3 separate regions of the Homo sapiens genome follow, and all the other regions are linked to region 1. Evidence: promoter capture Hi-C in human tissues and cell types (Jung and others, 2019). All regions are on one chromosome and are shown on one strand. The core of a region is centred on a gene start or on the middle of the fragment in contact, and the rest is flanking DNA. Distances in the headings are between cores, read along the strand shown.

What was found. Contacts are between HindIII fragments. The study calls those that stand out against the background at their distance.
Region 2: a fragment that was not itself captured here is called in contact with the fragment with the promoter of C3orf49 in region 1 in 2 of the 25 tissues and cell types used here (H1 embryonic stem cells and dorsolateral prefrontal cortex).
Region 3: a fragment that was not itself captured here is called in contact with the fragment with the promoter of C3orf49 in region 1 in 2 of the 25 tissues and cell types used here (H1 embryonic stem cells and dorsolateral prefrontal cortex).

The regions. Positions count from the first base shown.
Region 1 is chr3:63,817,543-63,820,671 of GRCh38, forward strand. C3orf49 (chromosome 3 open reading frame 49) reads left to right here and starts at 1,757. Exons shown (of 7, transcript NM_001355236.2): 1 at 1,757-2,054. The coding sequence starts at 1,930. RefSeq lists a silencer at 1,104-1,223. The HindIII fragment of the contact is 1,936 bases long and covers 532-2,467 here.
Region 2 is chr3:63,462,476-63,465,870 of GRCh38, forward strand. All of the region lies in intron 2 of SYNPR (synaptoporin), which reads left to right. All of the region lies in intron 1 of SYNPR-AS1 (SYNPR antisense RNA 1), which reads right to left. Among named protein-coding and RNA genes, the nearest start is that of SYNPR-AS1, 86 kb to the right of the region's middle. The HindIII fragment of the contact is 6,778 bases long and covers 1-3,395 here.
Region 3 is chr3:63,440,797-63,444,210 of GRCh38, forward strand. All of the region lies in intron 2 of SYNPR (synaptoporin), which reads left to right. The region is part of intron 2 of SYNPR-AS1 (SYNPR antisense RNA 1); the gene reads right to left. Among named protein-coding and RNA genes, the nearest start is that of SYNPR-AS1, 110 kb to the right of the region's middle. RefSeq lists an enhancer at 3,398-3,414. The HindIII fragment of the contact is 5,814 bases long and covers 1-3,414 here.

The DNA of each region.
Region 1 (3,129 bases), core at 507-3,006:
TGAAGGTCCAAAGAGGTTTTCGTTACCCGCCCAAGGACCCATAAGCTTGGAAGGGGTAGATCTAGAATGTAAATCCAGACACAGCTCAAAATTGATGTCTCTCTATACTCTAACTCTTTCCCCACCCCCTTCCCACTCCTTCTAGTTCTGTCATCTGCTTCAGGACTCCTTTGGGAACCTACAAGTTTTGTCACAGATGCCACAGCAGCAAGTGTTTCAGCCTATTACATACACACATACATGCAGACATGCACACACAGAGACATGTACATAGACACCCATGCACAAATAAAAAACAGCTGTCTTTCCTAGCATAAAATTCATCTCATTCATCTAGATAATTGATGAAATACAACAGAATTAAGGCAGGAGTGCCAATAATTGCATGAAAAATATTGCCCTGTTGCTAAAGAAAATATTCATGTATTCATTTATTCAAGCACCTATTATTTATTGTGCTCTGAGGATGCCAACAGATGAGGAAAAACAGACCAGGGAGGAGCATATGTCCATTTGGCCAAGGCATATTAGATATGCTCTACTTCAGCGTTTCTCAAATAAGGGACAGAGGAACATCTGCACCCACTCTCCTAGAATATGGATTCCTGGGTCTCATTCCCTGCTGAAGCGGAATTTCTATTTCACTTGAATTTTGCCATAAAACTATGGCTTGGGCACTATGAGTTGTCCCACTTTAGGGATGAGAAAACAAGCATGGGTGGGTTAAAATGAATTGGCCAAGGTCACATAGCTAAGCTAGAAATGAGAACTCATGCATAATTCCCAAATCCACTCTCTTAGCCCCTTAACATTATACACTTCATTCTAGACCATTTTAAAGCTCTTTTCCCCAGTACTGAAACATACAAGACCCTCACTACTCCAAGTGCAGTCTGGCATCATCAGCGTCACCTGCGGGTTTGTTAGGAGTGCAAATTCTTGGATCCCAGCCCAGATGTACTGTATCGAAATCTGCATCTTAAAAAGACCTCCAGGAAGTTTGTGTGCACTTGAAAGCTTGAGAAGTATGCTCCAGATTATTGATTAATGCAAACACAGAAAGCAGAGTAATTCTTGTAACTCCCAGAACCTTTCTAGAGGAGTTTTTCTTGTTAAGCATCTAGTTATTTGACTGAACAACTCAAACCGCGAGAGGGTAACAGGAATAAATCCTAGTGTCTGCTGCCACCTTGTGGTGAGAAGTTCCATCACAGGCAGAATTCGCTCTTCACCACGAAATAAATGGGGCAATGTTGGAAGGGAGGGGTGGATCAGGTCCTCAATTTAGCAATGTACTTTGAGAGACCACTGCAAAATTCCAAGATGTAATGAAAACCACCCTTGGGGTACATTTTGAGATGTCCAAACAACAACTGGCCTTGTCATATGTGTCCCACAGGACACAGAGAACATTCACCAGCTGTAACTGAGAGATCTAACAGAAGCTCAACTTGTGTTAATCAGCGTATCGTTGGTATTCCTATAGGTCCCTACCACTTCAGAGTTCAAATACGCACTTCTGAATGTGGTGGTCAATTAGTGTGTGGGTGTTTTTTGTTGTTGTTGTTGTTGTTTGATTTTTTTTTTCTATCCAAATGCCAGCATTGAGGCAATCAGATCATCATTTCTGTATTTGCCTTGTTCAAGAATCTGTGAAGTGTTCCACAAAGGTCCATGGAATTTCACACAGCTCTGTCAAATACATCACTGGTGACCTCTGTGAAGTTGTAAACAGGGCCAGTCCCACAAATAATGTCTCTAACACCTGGAAGGGAATAAGGGAAAGACTCTAAAAATTTCCTACATATTTTATTCCGAATAGCCCACACCTTGACAGTACATTCAGTCACTGGATGATTTTGTATTGAAGTCTGTAAGTTCAAGAACTAAAACAATCCAAAACGGCTACTACAGGTGAAGTTGAGAGCAATGGCCCAACCTCAGCTGTATCTACCAGAACCCTTTAAGATTGCCTACAGAAAAGTTGGACAGTGCCGAAGATTCCAGCAACTCAAGAAGAAAAATGGCTCATTCAAAAGGAAGGGGATAGAAAGGTAACAGAGATTCATTTCCTTTTCTGTCAAATGAGAGTCTTTGGGTTTGGCATAGTGGCATGTCCTTTTAAGCATTGCATTTAGGAATGAGGACTCTGGATGGATTGGCGGGGAGGGTACTGCGTTGGATCAAGAAATCTAGTGTGACAATGTAAGCTTCATTTTATGATCAGAAACATCTTAATTGTAACAGGGAAAACCTTTCCTTTCCACTCGAAATTAAGTTTCAATGTGGCATAGGAGACTAAAATAAGTTCTGATCCTATGTTGATATTTCAGCATCAGAATTTTGGACATCTCACATCCCGTGAAAATACTATTATTTTGAAAAGTCATTAGTGCATTCTTCGAAATAGGTCCACGATCAGTGCTTTCTTTCTCCTATCCCAGCAATTTGGGCTGCTGAAATATGTACTAATCACATTTCACTATGGACACATTGTTTAATGTAACGTTAAAACTGCCTTAGACTTGCTATTTTTTTGCCAATGACAAAACCATATAGACAGGTATGAAACATCCAAAATATAATATATTTTAATTTGGAAAGTCAGTGTGGTGATTTATTTTCCAATTTCTTTGGGCTTCTCTCTTACCAGGTCCATGGGCTATAGTTCAGACATGTAGAAGTGAGGTGTTTTAATGAGTCCTGGAAGCATCAAAGACCAAGCTTGTGAACTTCCATGGACAAAATAAAATACTGCAGAGATTTCCACTTTCAATGAAAAGTAGGCACTCCGGGGGAAGCAATACAACCAAATAAATTCAGTACCAACACAAAAATATTTAAAAACTTAAGAAGGGGAGGGTTCTGCTCATATCAGAAATTGCAGCAGTGTGTTCCTAGGCTCTGGAGCTAAATCACCTTTGTTAATTATGTTCTAGATAGATTGGGGATGAGAGTGGGGAGGATGGGAATGGGAAACACCTTCTAGAGATTCTGAGACCACTTAGAACTGGGCTTTTAACATGGGTGGTCTTCAAAATTCCTGAATCTCCTGAAACTGTATTTGCATTGTTCTGTGTCACAGTATGTGTATGTGTGTACATGTTTATAGTAGTAGAATCACTTAAA
Region 2 (3,395 bases), core at 60-2,559, 360 kb before region 1:
TGGATACAGACTGTCCCCAAAAGAGCCATAGATCAAATAAAACCTTGAAGTCAGTGGTGTGAATTTACATTCATTAACCTCCAATTTAGGTCGCTGAGTTATACTTTATTCCCAGGACATGAGTACTAGCTTCCTAAAGTCATTGATAACAGAGGTCATGGGAAGATGCCCCTCCTAAATTGTACACTGATATAAAATGGGCTGAGATTTATCTCTTTGGAATGATGATATCCTCTTCATCTATTATGACTGGGAAGAGATGAAAACATTAGACTGGAAAATTGTTATTTGCATACTTCAGTGTGCATCCATTATAATATGCAGTTACAACCAATCTCTGCTAAGGAAGTCAAAACACCATAAAATTTTGATGCCCTCAACCAGCCTGTTGAGCATTGTTTTCAGTTTCCTGTAAGGGGAAGGTGCTTGTGTGAACATACAGGCCCTGGCCACCAGGGAAATGAGTGGTGAATGGATGTTGGGTTCCACTGTTCCTGTCAGGCTCCTTTGCTCTGCAGATGCACAATTCAGCTGCCACTGATATGATGTTTTGGCCACTACAAATCACAGTCCTCAGAGACTAGGCTATTCCATTAGAAATAAATTCTATGCCACCCATAGTTACTGAGGTCTCATGTGTGCCAGTGGGTTTCTCAGAAGGATTCTGTCACTTTCTTTTACAGTCGAGGGAAAAAGGTACAGCTATGTCACTTTACTGTGGAACATTTTATTTTACCGTTGCAATGAAGTGATTTTCATTCAGGACAGCTCCCTTCTAAGAAGCAGACTGGCTCAAAAAATCCAGATCCTGGATTTTCTTAATAGATACAGTTTTGGTGCACATGGAAATAACAAAAATGGAACTGGTGACATGATTCTAAAGGACCTGATTTATGGTAAATATCCAAGAAAAGTGGAAGGTGTGAAATCAGAAACCTAAGTGGACAGTAGATCTGGAAAGTTCCTTGGAAATAGTAGCTGCCCCAAAAGTAGCTGTGAATGAATGTGAGGGATAGGTTTTCAAAGGAGGCATCCATAGTCCATCACCAGTTGTGTCACCTTATAAGTTGTGCTTCTCTGTCAGAGCAGAAGTTCTTAGGCTGAGGTCCTTGAATCTCTGGGTTGGTCTGTTAGAGAATCCTGAGAAGTATCTGAATCCACCATGTCCGCATGACAATTTTTTAATATATGCACACATGAAAAATTTTCTATGGAGTAAGTCCATAGCTTTCAGGAGGTTTCCAAAGGGGAAACTAAGCTTAAACACCAGCCCACAGATACTCCTCATCTCCTCTCATCAGGACTTTCCTAGATGACCACCATCAAATTTTCTCCCAAACAAGTTCATCTTATTCCAACTTCCAAGATAATCTCACACCTTGGAATCTTGTCATTCAATTTTTGTAAATTTTATTTATCTATTTTTTTGTAATGTTGATTCTGCTTCCTTTCACTTATATGTCTTCACATTTTATGTAGATGCCTTTTTTCGTAACATTTAGTTCTACTTTTGTCTCTTACGTAACCACTTCTAGTAGACCAAAGTACCACTAAGGCACTTTCATATACACTTGTGAGTTTCACCCTGTTTAGAGTAAAGAAGGGATGCATTTCCAATTCAACAAATTAATATTAAATGCTTGCTATGAGTTGTGCATTGTGTTTGCTCTGATGCTAGTTCTGTCATGTTGATTTTTATTTACTTTCTGCAAAGAACTTTTTCTCTAATTTTTTTTCCTACTTTTTAACTTACCTCTACTGCCTATTTGACTGGAGTTTTGCTCTGGGCTTACTGGCCCTCATTGAAGAATTTAATTTACAAACACTCCCACTGTATGGGGGTTGCAGAGATGAACAAAGGATGGTCCCTGCCTCAAAGGGCTTTCAACCAGGCAAGGAAAATTATGTAATTGCATCCTGCATTCTTTGTAATTCTTAATTGTTTCATTTTTACTTAATTTATTTTCACCTCTTCCGAAGGTATTCCACTTTTTTTCTACTTCCTCAAATACCTAATCTTCACATCTTCCTTTACTAAGAATAAGATCCTTTTGCATAAGACCCTCAATTTCCCTTTTTTCCAACTCAGCGTAACTTCTCGGAGCCCCATCCAATGCCTCCTTCTTATCTCTTAGAGAAAGAATTATCTCTCATGTTTTCATCAGACACATACTTTCTGGGCAACTACTACTTGCAAGGCACTTCCCACTTACATTTCTTTTCCCACATCTTCCAGTTTTCTCCAGCTCATGCAAATCATTTCTTTTAGAATTGTGTCACTAATTTTTGCATCATTGTCTTTGGTTCCCATCAACAAATAGGATGTCTCTGACAGTATTTTAACCTTGCTAGATGTGTTAAAAAGCAGTATACATTTAATTTGGGAGCCCAAAGCTAAATTATTTTAAAAAGGTGACTCTGTCTTTTAGTTACAGAATCACTAGATGGCTCCATCCCTGCAGTCTCTTCTGCAGTGCTGGAGTTGATGGGATACTTATGTCTATGCTCATTAGTGTGTTCCATGTGAACTCCACTTATCACTGGTACTCAGAAACTAAAACCAATATATTAAACATTAAGTAATTTGATACATTTTATTGCCTCTTAGATTTAATCAATAGAAAGACATTATTGAAAGATGGCGAGGATCTTCATCTTATTGCCTAAAAAATAATGTCTTTTACATGGAATATAAAGCCCTTTAGGCTATGGTGATCCTTCATTTCATTAAAATATAATGAGAAAAAGCTACTCTCCCATAATGAGGCAGAACTAAATGGGTCCTTAGCACAATCAATAAAAGATTATTAACAAAGAAAATTTTGTTAAAGAAAAGAGAATAAATTTTCTTCTACATCCTACAATAGTATAATAATAGAAGAGAGTGAAATTTCCTTACTTTAAGGAATGTTCCTCTAGGGAATCTAGATTAATACTATTTTTGAATATTCTTTAAAAAGCATGAAAACTATATATATTGAACAAAAAACTATTGGATTTTGTCTATACATATATATTCACTTATAGATTGCTTAATAATCTGATCTTAATTTTAAAAAATTTTAATGAAAAATTTCAAACATATATAAAGAAACACAAAATAATATTATGAGCCTCTGCTTCTTTGTTGTCTAGCCAAAAATAATTACCTCACAGGCAATGTTGTTCCTTTTATACTGTCATCCTTACATTCTCCCCAGGCATATATCTTTCCTCCCATAAACAAATTGCTATGTATCTCTCAAAGGTATTTAAAACAAAAATACCACAATATATCACGTACAAAAATTGGCAATAATTCAATGTCATCAAATATCTACACATTTCCAAATGTTTCACTTAATCTCATATTTTTATAGTTTATTGAATCTAAATTTTTTTTTTAATTCACACAT
Region 3 (3,414 bases), core at 224-2,723, 380 kb before region 1:
CAAGACTGAGCCTCATACCTCCTATCTTCCCAAATGTTAAAGTGCCCAAGGCCATACAGAAACCAGCAGGGCCTGAGCGTGGATTTCATGGGCTCTTTCTACACCAGCAAGTTCCAATCTCTGGTGCAAATCTGCATAATGGGGACAGCCGAGAAGTTACTGCAGGGTCCATGCATCCAAATGTGGATTTGTCATACCCTGTACACTGAATAAACAAAAGTATAAGTGCCATCACGTTGCATCCAAAGCAGAGTGGTTAATAGCTTAGACAATGGCATACAATTAGGCTCAAATTTTAGCTTTACCAGGTATTGACTCTGTACTTTCAGATAAGTTACTTAACTCTTTGGGTCTTGGTTTTTTCACCTATACCCTGGAATAAAAATTGTAACTCGTAGTTTTGTAAGGCTCAAATAAAATGATATACCAAAAACACCCACATAGAATAGTATCTGGCAAGGAGTAAATATTCAAGAAATCTTCACTATTATTATGTAGAAGACAGAACTTTTTTCCTTTTACTTGCAATGGGACTCTTAATATTCAGAGCCAATGAGAATTACTCACTGGGCTCCGTGAAGAAACAATTAAGTATGGTTCTACCCTACAGGTGCATTGCTGGAAACTGCTGCCTCTTTGACCCTACTCTGACTCTGCCCCTTATCAGCCACCTGGAGGAACTGTGGCCTTCAGCACAGAGACACTATTCTTTCAGTCAATCCTTCATTTATTTATTCTGTAAATGTTTACTGAGTGCTCACTTAAATGCCGGGTGATTCTAAGGCTTTTTTTCCCTGCTTCAGATGTGTTCACTTGCTTAATTTACTCCCCTGAGTAACTTCTCTCATTGAAGTGCAGAGATTTGTCAATAAGCAGGTGAGGGGTGGCCACAGGGGAGTGGGGAGGAAAAGGTTCCTATCAGAATTTCAAAGGGGCCATGGGGCATGTACAGTTTGAAGAATTGGTAAGCACCCCAAAAGCTCAGGCATAGGCAACAAGCGGATCGAAAGAGATGGAGGAGAGAGGGAGCTGGACTCCCTGAGCCCAGTTTGCAGGTGTGTAGTGTAGGTGAAAGCACTGCCTTGCCCGTTGTTCATTTCTTCCCCACACCTTCCCACTCACAGCTCTATGAGGCATAAGTGTAGCCATTTTACAAAGGGGAAACCAAGGCTCAGGCGCAGGCCACATGACTAGTAAGTGGGAGACCAGGACTAGAACCCAAGTTGCCTGACTCCTCGTTATGGTTTTTTGGTTGGTTGGTTTGGTCCCCCAACCTCCCCCTATCCACCAAGTTGTTACTGTGTGTATAAGAAAAGGAAGAAAGGGAGTAAGAGAGATGATGGTGGTGGCTATGATATGGTAGTGATAGTGTGTGTGTGTGTGTGTGTGTGCACGCATGAAAGAGAGAGAGAGAAGGAGACAGAGATACAAAGAGACAGAGATAGGAAGGAAAGCGAGAGAGAGAGAGACAGAGAGAGGGACCTCAAAAAAAGACTTTGGACAACTCCAAATTAACAACAAATTAATACCTATAAAAAATGTGGCCAGCCTATGTGCATTTCAACATTCCCGCACCGAGTGGGGACCCAAAGTAGGGGGCGGGAAGGAGAGGCACACAGACTTCCTCTCCCTGTGCTGCGGTATCTGCCTTGGGGAAACATTGTCCACGATGCCAGTGTGAGAACATGTCACCTGTGGCAGCCTCTCCAAGAATTTGATACAAATGCCCCCAACACACATTGCCTCAAGGTGCTATGATTTCGGCCCTTCGAAGTAGTCGAGCTGAACTCCTTCCTACAGAGGTTTATTTGAAGAAGAAAGCAGATCCATGTCGCACTTAAGCCTCTGAAACCATTTTAATTTTGAGGTTTTGCAGGAGACGTCTTTAAGTAACACTCCTGTGACGAGTGAGCAACCAAGTTGTAATCTGTCCCTTCTACAGTTGCCAGAGCCTTAAAAGCCTGTCTTCCAGTACATCACCTTAATGATTATTTATGGACAGTGTACGAGTTTCCCAAATGGGGATTATGCATAACAGCTATGCATTTACATTAAAATGAGGGCAATTTATTTAACAAACATAACAACATTTACTTAATCTATGCAAATCTATTCGTAAGATTTTATAAAACCACCATTTTTCCCCATACCCTTAAAACACAAAATTCTGGCTTTAAAAAAATCTCCTAGTTTGTTTTTAAGCACTGTGCTTGCAGGAGGAGGGGGCTGGCAGAGTAAAGGGGAGATGGTGCCTCTGTTGGTGATGCAGCCTGCTCGTGCAAAGCAGTCCTGCACTTCCAGTTGTGAGCCAAGAGCCAAGTGTGGGAGCTCACCATGGTGGCAGCCACCTCCCCACCAAGCAGGCAGCGTTCACCAGAGGGGAGTATCAGGTTCCTGTACTCAGCTGTGGGTTGTCACTGTCTAATAATATGACCGTTTTGCCATCTCTCTGCAAATGAGGCTGAAGCTGCTATCTGATTGGTATAACATCTCACTTTCCCTCTGCATTGATTTTCTTCTTCTCCTCCTTTGCTTCATAAAAAGAGGGACAAGTGGCTGGTGCTGTGGACAGAGAAGCTTTATTTTTAGTATGAGACAACCTCTATTTTCTTTCAGGAGAGGGAAGTTGGATTATCAATTCTTTTGTAAATGTGTATGGTGATATTTGCTCCGGTAAGTTTACAGCTATCTTGATTTACAGCTGGCTGTGGGGATATGTGTGTGCATGTATGTGTCTCCATAGGCACATTTGGATTGTACACTTTTCTTTCCAAGTATCAGTTTTTAAGTCTCTAGTAATAATCTCTATTTTTCTTGACTTTGCTTTCTTGTAATTTGTATGTTTAAACCAAAGAGGCTGTGTTGATACTGAAATGCTTACTTTAGCTGTTTAAGTATGTGCTGGGTTTCTTTGAACATAGTAAGGAAACTATTTAAGCAAACTTATATTTGCTTTATAAAACTGTAATGTCATTCTACCCTACCCCTCCTTCCTTGGAGTGTTTAATATCCTAAATACATTCATTGTGCTGCAACCTGCTTACCATTTTAATTAAAGTTTCTTCATCAGTGTCAGAGTGAAAATTACTTAAACTCCATATACAGCTACCAAATATTATATGTTGTGCTGAAAGGTGCTAGTTTTATAAGGTCTTATAGCAGTATGTAGAAAGAATGAGTTTCCCCTACGATTGGATGCATGCACCTTTAAAAGGACTGAATTTAGAAAAAGTATTCAGATCACTAAATGAAGTCCTAGCATGCCATGAAAAGCTACAATCACAAGTGGCTGTTGCTTCTCTTTCGTCTTTCTTTGCACTGTGTATTTCTGCCACCATCTGTCAGATGCCCAGTCCGGGCTCCTGTGTTTCTATATGTGAAGCTAATCAGGAGAAAAGTTGCTGTTATTAAATT